Regions from separate parts of the Homo sapiens genome. Here region 2 is linked to region 1. Evidence: promoter capture Hi-C in 16 types of primary human blood cells and fetal thymus (Javierre and others, 2016). All regions are on one chromosome and are shown on one strand. The core of a region is centred on a gene start or on the middle of the fragment in contact, and the rest is flanking DNA. Distances in the headings are between cores, read along the strand shown.

Region 1 (6,502 bases), core at 2,911-5,410:
CCGGGCTCAAGCGATCCTCAAACCTCAGCCTCCAGAGGAGCTGGGACCACAAATGTGTGCCACCATGCTTGGCTTATTTACTATTTATTTTATTTTATTTTATTTTTTGTAGAGTCAGGGTCTCCCTATATTGTCCTGGCTGGTTTTGAACCCCTGGGCTCAAGCTATCCTCCCACCTCAGCCTCTTAAAGTGCTGGGATTACAGGCATGAGCCACCAAAACCAGCTAAAGTTGTAATTCCTTAGCAATGTGTTGTACACTTCCTCTATGTCCCTTCATCCCCAATCAAATTCACCTTTCTGCTCACCTACTCTCTTAGTTGTCTGCTTTCTGCCATATGACAACCAGCTCTTCCAACACCTTAGCCCAGATTGATTTTACATGTGCTATCTAGTGCGTGTTACGTGTTTGTTTCAGCTAGAGAAGTTTCTGGAGTTAACCAAGTTTGCATGTGTGTCTGGGGATGCTTAGGAGAATGTTGTAAATGACCAGTATACCAAAGTGACACTGTGATTTGCTTCTTCTCCATGCTGGCAGCAGCAGTCCTCAAATCGTGCAGTGGCCAGCATTTTGTTCAGGAGAAAATTGCTGTAGTTCCAAGTATTGTTAAACTGAAACGATGTAGGCTGGATTCACATGCACTTTTGGAAATATCATATATTTTGAAGGTATTATAAGTTTGATTTTTTTGGTGAAATATCTGCACTCTCTCCTTGGATTAAATCATTTTTGCACTTTTTATTCCTTTCCCCCACAATTATTATTATTATTATTATTTTTTGAGACGGAGTCTCGCTCTGTCACCCAGGCTGGAGTGCAGTGACGCGATCTCGGCTCACTGCAAGCTCCACCTCCCGGGTTCACGCCATTCTCCTGCCTCAGCCTCCCGAATAGCTGGGACTACAGGTGCGTGCCACCACGCCCGGCTAATTTTTTGTATTTTTTAGTAGAGACGGGGTTTCACCATGTTAGCCAGGATGGTCTCCATCTCCTGACCTCGTGAACCACCCACCTCGGCCTCCCAGAGTGCTGGGATTACAGGTGTGCGCCACCGCGCCCGGCCCCCCACAATTATTTTTGTTTGTTTGCTTTTCATTCCTGAAATCCTGCACTGAAGCTCTCTGGTACTTCTATTTACTTTTTCTCTACCTTTAATTTTCTTCATTTTATTTTTCATTCCATTCCTTTTTCTGTTTTCAAAAACTTTTTTTTCTCATTTAGCTCATGCTTTGCCATGAGCTCATGCTTTGCCATGTTGGGGATTTTATTTTATTATTTCTATCTTAATTCAAAGAATATAAACCATACAAAAGCCTGCTGCCTTTTCAAAAGGAGTTCTGAATCTGAAGCCCAAAATAATACCCAGTATAGTTGTACAATTTGGCTGTATTTTAGTTGCTTTTCCAGGGTAAAGGAAATTTTTGATCTACTCTTTCCACCACAGCACTCATTTGTCATGAATGTCCTGTTCTCAAAGTTATTGAGTCAGTTGTGATGACAGCTGGTTTTCTAAGCAGCCAGGAAAGAAGAGGAATCTTTATATATTTTTTCCCCTTTTTTCTCATCAGGAGCCAAGAAAGAACATTTATATACTTTAAAACCAGTCCTCAAGAGAGAACTATCTGCACTCCTCTCACCCCCCCAAAAAGGTTATACATCTTAATACTAAATTCTGGATATTGTATTGTTTCCTCAGATCCAGCACCAGCTAAAGGAAGGGAGCTTGTATACATTTTTTTTTGTTTCTAATAAAAACATACAGGTTCCTTACCAGTAGCACATAGATAGGGTAGACAGTTGTATGAATATTATGGGTACAAATGAAAGTAATAGTAAGAATTTATGAGCTGACCAGATTCTAGAAAGCCACATGTCCAACTCCATCAGCTTCCAGAAGCAATTCTTCCTGCCCCCAGCTCCACATAAAGGACTGAGAAGTCTAGGAAGAAGCATAACAATGTCTATTGGTAGTCAGTGTCGTTTAATGGTTAATTGCTGCCATTATTCAGTTAGTTTATTAGATTCAAGAAGAATAATCAGCCAACAAATATTTATTAACACAGAGGAAATGCTGACCATAAGATGTTAGGTGCTGGGGAATGCAGTGGGAAAACAAAAGAGTTTAAAGCCTGGAGGGGAAGATAAACGGTCAGCAAGTTATCACAGTTTATCAAATAAATGAATTCAAGGGTGCAAAATACCATGAGCAAGAAATACAAGGTGTCAACAGTAGAAACTGAATACATACGTGCCTGTGGGCATGTATACCCACCCACCCACCCACATATATACACAAGGAACAGAGCTTGAAATGAATCTGTCTTTCCTCTACCTCAAGTGGCAGCTTTGTTAATTCCTGCAAAGCAATATAAATAGCAGCTTCTATATGAAATTATATGCATCCCTTTTCTGTTGCTGTTTATTGATGCCTGAGGAGGGCAAACATGGGTTCTACTGATGTCAGCAGGCAGAGTTGCTGCAGTAAAATTTATTCAAAATGAGTGTTGTGGGTTCTGATTTGAATAGATAAACTGGAGATGCATTTATGAATTTGCATGTCTGTTTACACAAGCAATAGACCATGGTGGCTGAAAGTCAGCCACTGGAGGCTGACTCTGGCTTCTGTTCTACAGTGGGTCCACTACTTACTAGCTCTATAATCTTGGACATACATCTGTAAAATGAAGATAAATAACCACATTAACCACCTCATAGTTTGCTGTGAGGATTAAATGAGTTAACAAATGCTAAGCCCTTGGAACAGTGCCTAGCACAGAGTAATTGCTCTACAAATGTCACCTATTGCTTTTGCTCTCCAATCCCCCCTTCTCCCCTTTTTTTAGCCAACTAACTGAGCAGGATAATATTGGATCTCGTGGATACAGGGTAATTTTCTTCAGCAGAATACCAGAGAAAGATTTATTATCGCCAAGGGGGCCCAGGAATTTAATAACACATTTGTTGTTTTTAGAGCTGAGTTTTTGTTGGAGTGTTAACTGAGAAAGAAAGTTTTCAGACGTGAATGGAATGTGACATTTACTCTGGTATTATTAGCATATAGAGTAGTAAAAACAGTAGTTGATAGTCTTCGTGCATGTTAGCTTCCCTTAGACTTATTTTCAAAATATTCATTTGGTTTATCACATTAATATATTGTGTCCCATTTAACATAGTTGAGACAAATTAAGGAAAGATGATAGGGTATGAAGAGCTGATAGAAGCTTTTAATATGTGGAAAACCTCAGAATATAAACATCTACAGTGTTATTAATAGGCATACCGTCAACAACAGTTTTTCAGACTTTGTGGTTCACTCTGGAGAAAAACAAGAGCATGACATCTTGAATTTCTTCACTGGGTAATTAAAAAACTCAGTTATAATGTAACACCAGCTGCACATATCATGTTAGTGGAGTTCAGCATCAATTAAAATTATAAACGAAACCTGTCATATGTTCCCTTTCAAAGCTGTTCAAGACAACTGTCCAAATCAACAAAACAGTATGAATATTTACTACCATAAATCTTTTAACTCTTTGGTTTTAACTCATTTCAAATTTTTAGTTCTACTCTATTCAAATAAATTATTATATAATAGCTAATACATACCAAGAGCTTACTGCATAATCTAGCTGCTGTTCCAGACATTAGTAACCAATGAGAAAACTGTAGAGAGTAGCTGCAGCTTTTAGTAATACAATGTCAAGGAGAAGAAAGTGGGGGCAGTACCGAAACTTACGTACAGTACCGTCGTTAGTACAGCATTGACACTGACGGCCTCCTTCAGGAAATACAAACCTTGTGAGGTTTTAATTACTAATGCTACAGAGTGGCGTTTTTCCGAGGACTGTGTTCCACTTGGTCTGTCTCTGATGGCTATTAACTAATAACCGTTCTCATTCTGCTGCTGTGGGAAATAAGCAACAACGGAAAAGTAATCGATAATCTTAGAGCATAACTCAAAGGCCAGAGCAGCCAAGGAGGTGGAAGAGTCCCGAGCCCTGCCTTCTCCACAGCACCCCCAAAACCCCACGGCGGGGCAGAGCGCCTGGTAGGGTACGAGCGGCCGCCAGCGTTTCCCGCGCGGCGCCGGGGGCGGCCCCGGGACTGGGGGTGGTGCCCTGGGAGCTGTGTGGCCGCGTGCGCGCTCCGCCGGGGTCCTGGAGGCCTCTGGGCGCGTGCGCGGGCGGTCGCTACCTGCGGCCGAGCCAGGGAGCGAGAGGGCGCAGAGGGCAGCGGGCTTGGGCAGCATGAGGCCCGGAGGGGAGCGGCCCGTGGAAGGGGGCGCGTGCAATGGCCGCTCCGAGCTGGAGCTACTGAAGCTGCGCTCGGCGGAGTGCATCGACGAGGCGGCCGAGCGGCTGGGGGCCCTGAGCCGCGCGATCTGGAGCCAGCCCGAGCTGGCCTACGAGGAGCACCATGCCCACCGCGTGCTGACGCACTTCTTCGAGCGGGAGCCGCCCGCGGCCTCCTGGGCAGTGCAGCCGCACTACCAGCTGCCCACGGCCTTCCGCGCCGAGTGGGAGCCGCCGGAGGCCCGGGCACCGAGCGCCACGCCACGCCCGCTGCACCTGGGCTTCCTCTGCGAGTACGACGCGCTGCCCGGCATCGGCCACGCCTGCGGCCACAACCTCATCGCTGAGGTCGGGGCGGCGGCCGCGCTGGGCGTGAGGGGGGCCTTAGAGGGCCTCCCCAGGCCGCCTCCGCCCGTGAAGGTGAGGTGGGGCCCGGGTGCGGGACCCTATCCGACTGCCCGGGTCGGGGGCGACCCGGGAAGGGCGGGACTCTCGTGCGTCCCGCGCGCCTCGGTGCCCTCCCGCCCGGGGCAGGTGTGTGTGGGACCGCGCTAAACCTGCGGTCCTCGCCTCGGCGCAGGAGCAGAGCTGAACCCCCAGTCAAAGTCAGTTCGCGTTGCCGACCTGGCGACATCTTGCAGATTATTGTTTCCTCCTCTCTAGTTATAAACAGCTCTGCTGAGTTGTTCCCTTAGGAAAGAACTTACACCCAAGCCTGGTGTTTGTTACGGGTTATTTTTGGTAACTGAGAGAGGCAACAGCAATTTGCTGACAAGGTTGTGCCATCAATCTCAGGAGGAAATAACTTCTTGTAGGTAATCCTACGGCCCCTTTTTATTCGTCTCCAAATAAATCTTTTGTTTGTGGCAGTCCTAGAAAATGTGATTCAAGTCATTGGTATTTGGATAGGAATTTTCAGTCGCTAGAACCACCAGACCCCTAGAAGTATACAAATAAAGGGGAAGTGAATGAGCATTATACATAGATGAGTTCATCCTTAAGTCTTAATTTTTTTGTTTTATGATTTTAAGAAATACCTCGACTCTTTAAACAGGGAAATGTCGTTTATGTTTGTCGTAGGGCAAGTTTAATCCTGTTTTACTCTGCTTTTCCAGATGGTATATTCTACACTATGAGCTAAGATTCAATCGTCATTCAGTTAAGGGGAAAACAAATGTTTTATTTTCATACTCTTTAGTTCATTTCCCCCAGTGTCAGTAACCTTCCTCTTTTATCCTAACACTACATCTTTTGTGGCTTTTTCACTTTAGCTGCCTTCTTTTTTCTGTCTCTGGAGGCTCGTTTTTGCATTTGTTAGGTTTTTGTTTGGGTTGGGGGAAGCATGCTTTGCCATGTCACAAACACTGGAGAGATTTCGCTTCAACCACGTTTTTAAAGGTTCTGAGTAGTCAGCGAGAGACATATCGTATTTAATGAGTTAAGGGTCAAGAATGAAGAGCGGTGGGCAGATCAGTTGAGGTCTGGAGTTCGAGACCCGCCTGGCCAACATGGTGAAACCTCTGTCTCTACTAAAATATATTAAAAAAAAAAAAATTAGCTGGGCGTGGTGGCTCACGCCTGTAATCCCAGCTACTCGGGAGGCTGAGGCAGGAGAATCGCTTGAACCCAGGAGGCAGAGGTTGCAGTGAGCCGACATCGCGCCACTGCACTCCATCCTGGGCAACAGAGCGAGGCCTCCTCTTAAAAAAAAAAAGAGCGGCGGCTTCATGTCAGAGTTTGAGCACTGTAGAACCGCCAAAAAAAAGCTAAACTTTGAGAAATGTACACTCTTTTTTTTTTTTTTTTTTTTTTGAGACAGTCTCATTCTGTCGCCCAGGCCGAGTGCAGTGGTCCTATCTCGGCTCACTACAACCTCCGCCTCCCGGGTTCAGGCGATCCTCGTGCTTCAGCCTCCTGAGCTGGGATTACAGGTGTGTGCCACCACGCCCAGCTAATTTTTGCATTTTTTAGTAGAGACAGGATTTCGCCATGTTGGCCTGGCTGGTATCGAACTCCGGATCTCGGGTGATTCGCCCACCTCGGCCTCCCACAGTGCTAGGATTACAGGCATGAGTCACCGCTCCCGGCCCACTCTTCTAACTTCAAATGGTTGTTCTCAATTTTAGCAAGGTTAAGTTATTAATTATCTGAAAATGGAATTTAAGTTGATTTCCTTTGCAAGCCAAGACTTTTCCAGCTTGTTTCAT
Region 2 (6,502 bases), core at 1,227-3,726, 2.0 Mb before region 1:
AGGCCTTAGCCCTGAGCTATCCGTCATCCGCTAACGCCGCGCTCCCTGCATCCCTGGCTTGGCCCCCAGGCTCTGCGCCGCTTGTCTGTAGCAGACACAACTCAGCTCCCTTACTGTCCTCAGGCCCGGCTATTTCAAGAATTCCAGAAAAAGAGTGCACCGGCGTGTGCGGGCCGGTGCTGCCCGGAAAACCCGTGAAGCAGGCACGCACGGCCCGGATGCAAGCACATCTGTCCCCTCCCCCAAAGGTCTCCCCAGCTTTATTGATCGCGTGGGTGCGGGTAGGGATCTAAATTTGTCTCCCAGATTTTCTCTGAAATCGAGTCTCTTGGGAGTGAAGGTCCATATGATTACACCACGTCCTTAGCAGTCGCGTTGTGTTCAAAATGGGCATGGGTGCTCGCGGCGCGGATACTGAGTTCCCCAGAGACGCGGAGTCTTTTGCCCCAGGGGCTTATTCTTGTTTTCTCAATGGAACAGGTCTTCGAATCTCCCCAGGAACATCTCAGTAAGTAGGGGTGTGCGTGTTTGTGTGTGTGTCAGTGTGTGTGTGTAAATGGTTCCTATGAGCTGACAGTTTGGTATTTAAAGAACAAATGGACATAAGCACAGAAGTCATGACTTTTCTATGGATAAGATTGAGATTTCTGAGATTTCCAAGACAAGGTTGACCTGTCACGGGATAGTATTTTCAATCCTTCTCATTAAAAAAAAAAAAAAAAAAAAAAGCCTGCACTTATGTAGAGATTCGTTGGACATTCTTGTTAGTATCTGAGATTACTTTGATGTTCTAAGTTGAATACAGGCATGCATTTTCATAATAGAACATTTGTCATATCGTATGTATTCCCATTGCAGATCATTTTCCCACAAAACTGTAAGCTTCTTCAAGGCAGGAAGAGCTTTTATTCGCCTCTGACTTGTCCCAAACCAAGTAGTGCCTGCAAATATCAAGTACACAATAAATGAGTGTTAATTACACCACTCACCCCCAATCCTTACATTTCCTGTAGGCTCTAAATATTTCTATGTGTGTGCAAAGGAGAAGAAATGGAGGAATGTGGACATAGGGTTCACAGATACTAAATAAACATAAAGACATGGCCATCCATGCTGATGGACATTTACCAGATAGTAATGGTGCTCAGAATCAATTTGCTAATCAAGTCTCCATAGTTTTAGGGTTGTTATGTGCAAGAGGTAGGAATGACCTACATTATCAGGCAATTCTCTTAAAAATCAATATCTGGATATATATGTCTCCCACCCCTCAACCCCCATTTTTTCTTTCTTTCTATAGATTAGGTGTGGTGTAAACCATTATACTTGAAGTGGAAATGAGCTTGCTAACCTGTGATACCTTACCTTGGATTTACGGGTACATTTGGCTAACCTCATATTTCCCTTTTTGCATTTTTTCACTGGAATCCTAAGATAACATAAACTGGTGAAACCTGGTTTGGGTATCTAAAATACTTAACTTGGGAAAGTGAACTGAAAATATTAAAAATCATTAGCTGCCTTAATTGTTCCTTTTTCAACTCAGTGATACTATTATATCCTCTCTTCTCAGCCTTTGAATGTACTTCCCAGTCTCTTCCATGAGTAAACATTTGAAGATTAAACATTTGAAGATTCTACCTTGTTAATATGTAATATTAACTGATACTGTTTTTCATAAGGGGTTTAACTGTGCCTGGTCACCTTATATAATGCCGCTTTAAAAACATCACCATCACTGATGCGTTATAAAACATTTATTCTGGACAACATAGTATGTAGAACACTTTCCATTAATTACTAGAAATCTTTTGAAGAGGACGCTGCCCACAATGGGAAGTATTTTTATTTTAGATCCTTGTACTAAAAAAATATACTTCACTCAGAGTAAATGAAAAGACTGGGTGCCTCATCAATATCATTGTTTCTAAATTTCTGTAGACTATTCAGTTGCAAGAGAGATAGGTCTTTTGTCTAATGCTCTAACGGTAAAAAAAATATTAGTTTTATTAAGAACTTTAGGGTTAAGCTCTTGGATTTTTGTAGCACCTCTTCTACTCTTTTGTTCAAGTGCCAAGTATTAATTCTTTTCAGCTTGTAAGTAAAATGTGGTTCAGAATGCTACCTCTATTTGTAGCATTAGGAAAAAAAAATGCTGTAGATATTTATAATAATTCTCGACAATATTGTTTTATTTTAGCATCAATTTCCTCTCCTCCGTTATGATTTTTAATGGAGTCCTTATTGGTGTTTTTTTTTTCCTTGACCTACTTTCTTTTCAATAGCTTTCATATATAGCCTGTTGTCATTGTTGGTGATTTCTGTAGAGTGTAGTAGAGTCTAAATCACGGTGAAACAGAGTAGTTAGTTATCACTTATTCTAGAAATGTTTTCGTGGTTTAAAAGTCATCTGGTCTGTTCATATTCTGACTTCTTTTAAACTATGCTTTTCATGAATTTGCTCCGTTCTCCAGACTGAGGATTGAACCTCATTCTGCTCTGACCCAATTGTTCTTTTCCTTTGTTGCCTCCACCCCCTAGAGAATGTGTTTCCAGGGGACAGGCGTTCTTGGTGCTGAAGAGGAGGAGAGTCAAGTGAGACGAGATCTGGTACCTCACGCACTAGATCCCTCCTCTCCGGCCTGGTGAGAAGTCAGAGACAATTTTGACAGTTCATAGTCCTGCCTTGGCTCTCACGCTTGCGGTCCATGGGCGGGTTTTACCTTCTCTCTCTTCCTCTGCTTCTGGCCTGCTTACAGGCCAACAGCAAATGCAGCCATTGCCCGAGACCACTCAGAACTCTCCCTGTGCCATCCTCTTGGGGAACAGGAGGATATGTCCGTAGAAGACTTCGTGGACTGGGGAAAGCCACGCCGGGATCGGGACGCCGGAGAGGGTCGCCCCTCCCTAGGCTTTTTCCCGTCGCGGCGCCCACGTGACCGAGAGCAGGCCTTCACCAGCCCGCCCCTTTCGGCCGCTGCTGCCCACTTCCCGCTCGGGGTAAGTAAACCGCCGTTTTCCGCACCGCCCCAACCCCGCCCTTCTCCTTTCCCCTTGCCTTCACCTCCCTCGGGCTCTCTCGCGCCACTCTCCCCACCCCCATATCTTCCCCATCGGGCCCTTTGTACGTGCTCGGCGCCGTGCAAGCGCGCCCGGCACGTGACCCCGCCGAACGTGGCATTGTGTTATCACGTGACCCAGGTGCGTACGCGACGGAGCGGGGTGTGAAGATGGCGGACGAAGAGGCCGAGCAGGAGAGGTTGAGTTGCGGCGAAGGCGGCTGCGTCGCGGAGCTGCAGCGCCTGGGCGAGCGGCTCCAGGAGCTGGAGCTACAGCTGCGGGAGAGCCGGGTACCGGCCGTGGAAGCGGCCACCGACTACTGTCAGCAGCTGTGCCAGGTGAGGGCGCCCGGTGGTCCCCTCCCCCTTTCCCCAGCTAGAGGGGGAAGAGGGCGAGCGAGCGCTAGGCGGCCGAGAGGTGGTCGCCGCTTCCTTGGCATCATCGGCGCCTCCGCCTGGGTGGGAGCGGGAGTAGAAGGAAGGCGCCTTTGTGTGGCTGCAGTTGTGGCGGTTGTTGTCGTCTGCAGCTCCTGGCTGGGGGAAGGGAGTTGCGGTCAAGGCGGAAAATCCCCCCTCCCCTTTCCTTCCCTGAACTCGGGACTGCGCGGTCCCCGCGGCTGAGGAAATGTACACGGTGCGGATTGGAGAGAGTAGGAGAATGGAGGCCAGGTTCTCTTCCTCCTCCTCCTTTTATTGTGCACTGGGGATTACCGCGCCTCCCGCCTCTGCGCCTCTGCTTCCCACTCCGACGGGCCTCCGCCCCCACTGGTTTGATTCCTTTGCCTTCCCCTGCTTTCATCCGTCCCGCCCCCCAGCCCCGGCCCTGTCCTGGCTGTCTCCGGGCCTTTGTTGTTCGAGTTTCGCCTTAGGACTGAAGGGGCCTTTGTTGATGTTCGGAGGAGCAGTCCCCGCCGACCCCTTCTAGTTGAGCTAGACGTTCGGGAGGGGGTGCTTGGCGGAGGTTGTCCCCTCCTGCCCATACTTGCTTGCTTGGTGCATCACTTCTGTGGTAAAGCTTTATCTCCTTAGTGTAGAGGAGCTGTGCCTGTACATCTGTCTCAGGTTGAGTGTCCTTTTGGGGCGGTTTTTCCAGAGTCCGTTTCTCATTTGCTTTCGCCCTTCGAGGAGTATGATTTCCACTATCCTTTCTGTCCCGATCACCCCCTCACCCCTGTTTCTTGGAGTCCTTCCTATTTGGCTTCCTGATGAAGTGGGAGAAGACTGAGGTTCATGTGGATCTGTGCTTTGGGTAGTTTCAAATCTTTTCTTTGCTTGCCCAAGGGCACTGCTCACCAGTGACTGCATTCTAACCAGAATTTGGAATGTTAATAACACTGTTTGCTAGTGATGAAAATCATTTCATCCATGGTGAAAATCGGAGAGTTTGGGACTACATTTGCACTTCATTACGAGCCTTACACTTAGGTTTAAAATTTCAAGGTAGTGTTGCTGGCTCTGGTGAAGACTTTGATTTGATTGTCTTGAGGAGGAAAAAGAAGACACAATTTACACAGGTCATATTTAGAGTTAACTTGTGAGTGTATCATTACAGAGAATTCGTTTTGGAAAAATACTGATCTTAACGTAGAACAATGGTTGACCATTTTAGCTGAGTAGATTACATTTTCACTTATTTTTTAGCTTCCAAATATTGAAATATTTTCTTTATTATGTCGGGGATACGTGATCACATACAAAAGAATCTCCGTTGCTGTATGCACTTTATTGTCACAAATTATTTGATGGCTGTTCATAATCTTAAAAACAAAAACTGTGAGATCAAGTGGTGACGTCTAGGAGGATGTGCAATGTGAAAGCTCCCTACTTAGGTAAATAGGTCTGGTGAGTACCTGTGGCAAAATTAAAGTCTCATTCCTTTGAATTTTAATATTTAAAAATTGTTGAAATTTCTCAGTTTCTCTACTTTGCAGTACCCACTCATTCTTAATTGGTCTTTAAAGATTTATTTTAGAGATAAAAAAATTTCTCTAAGATACCCATAATAGGAAGTATTTCATTTGTAAGTCGAATCAGTTTTTATATAATAATCAGTGAAAACTATTAAAGTCTAGCTTTGCTGAAAGACATTTTCCCCTAATAGTGTCCACTGATAGTTTTAAGGCTAATTACTGTAAATTCTTTTTTTGTCAGCAGTATTTGTAAGCAGGATTAATAATTCTGGGAAAATAGAATCTCATGCAAGCTGGACTCCCCCCCGCTTTTTTGTGAGTGTGTGACGTTGTAAAGTTATCACTTAAAGATTTTTATTTATTTATTTATTTTTGAGATATGGAGTCTTGCTCTGTCACCCGGGCTGGAGTGCAGTGGTGCGATCTCAGCTCACTGCAGCCTCCATCTCCTGGGTTCAAGCGATTTTCCTGCCTCAGCTTCCCAAGTAACTGGGACTACAGGCGTGCGCCACCAAGCCCAGCTAATTTTTGTGTTTTTAGTAGAGATGAGGTTTGGGGTTTCACTGTATGTCGGCCAGGCTGGTCTCGAACTGCTGGTCTCGAACTGCTGACCTCAAGTGATCCACCCACCTCTGTTTCCCAAAGTGCTGGGATTACAGGTGTGAGCACCGCGTCCCGCCAGACTTGAGTTTTTTAATGAGTGAAACAGCATTTTAAAAATCAGAATGAAAGTAATTTCCTATATCAGTTTCATTAAGTGATTAGTCTTGCCACATAAATTGTTATTGATGCTACTGACAAAAAAACATCAAACACTAATGAAACAAATGCTGGATTTGTGGATTTCAAAAATTATAAAATATTTCATACACTGTAAGCTCAGAATAATTTAAATACACTTAAAAGTAATCTCCATTTGAAACGATACAGAGTGTGTCTGATTTCCTCTGGAACATTTTCTGGGGTGGGGTTTTTTGTTTTGTTTCTCAGGTAACCTATTTATGTTAGTGATCTTGTCAAGTGGAGGTAACTTGAAACAATTGTTTATTTATGTTTATTTACAGGGGTGGAGGTGGCTCACACCTGTAATCCCAGCAGTTTGGGAGGCCGAGTTGGGCGGATCGCTTGAGCCTGAGCAGCATGGCGTGGCCCCTTCTCTACAAAAAATACAAAAAACAAAACAAATCAAAAAAATTAGCCAGGCGCTGTGGCGAGTGCCTGTAGTCCCAGCTACTTACGAGGCTGAGGTGGGAGGATCATTTGAACCCGGGAGGCAGAGGTTGCAGTGAGCAGAGATGGTGCACTGTGCACACTCCAGCCCGGGTGACAGAGAAAGATCCTGTCTCAAAAAAATAAAAAATAAAAATAAAATTGTATCTTAGCAATTATCACCTAGCATTTTGATACGAAGTTGAGTGAAGCAATGGTTAACAATTAAAGAATTTATTGGCGCAATCTAAATATAGTACCAGGGATACTAGGAGCTAGAAATTATGTCTTAGTTTCTAACCTTGAGATTATTATTTAACTTTT

Evidence for each region. The method cuts DNA at HindIII sites, captures the fragments that hold promoters and counts their contacts. A CHiCAGO score of 5 or more calls a contact.
Region 2: a contact is called between a fragment that was not itself captured here and the fragment with the promoter of PM20D2 in region 1, in 2 of 17 cell types (total B cells and fetal thymus). The highest score is 6.2, in total B cells.

The regions. Positions count from the first base shown.
Region 1 is chr6:89,141,895-89,148,396 of GRCh38, forward strand. PM20D2 (peptidase M20 domain containing 2) reads left to right here and starts at 4,161. Exons shown (of 7, transcript NM_001010853.3): 1 at 4,161-4,715. The coding sequence starts at 4,251. It overlaps LOC101929004 (a long non-coding RNA gene), which reads right to left and starts at 4,972. Exons shown (of 4, transcript XR_942766.4): 1 at 3,799-4,972; 2 at 1,853-1,939. RefSeq lists a silencer at 3,978-4,907. The HindIII fragment of the contact is 3,355 bases long and covers 3,220-6,502 here.
Region 2 is chr6:87,152,362-87,158,863 of GRCh38, forward strand. It overlaps ZNF292 (zinc finger protein 292), which reads left to right and starts at 3,204. Exons shown (of 8, transcript NM_015021.3): 1 at 3,204-3,398. The coding sequence starts at 3,231. It overlaps LOC124901355 (translation initiation factor IF-2-like), which reads right to left and starts at 2,886. Exons shown (of 2, transcript XM_047419630.1): 1 at 2,615-2,886; 2 at 1-941. The coding sequence starts at 27. RefSeq lists enhancers at 1-228, 2,742-2,901, 3,172-3,511, 4,023-4,630. The HindIII fragment of the contact is 3,192 bases long and covers 881-4,072 here.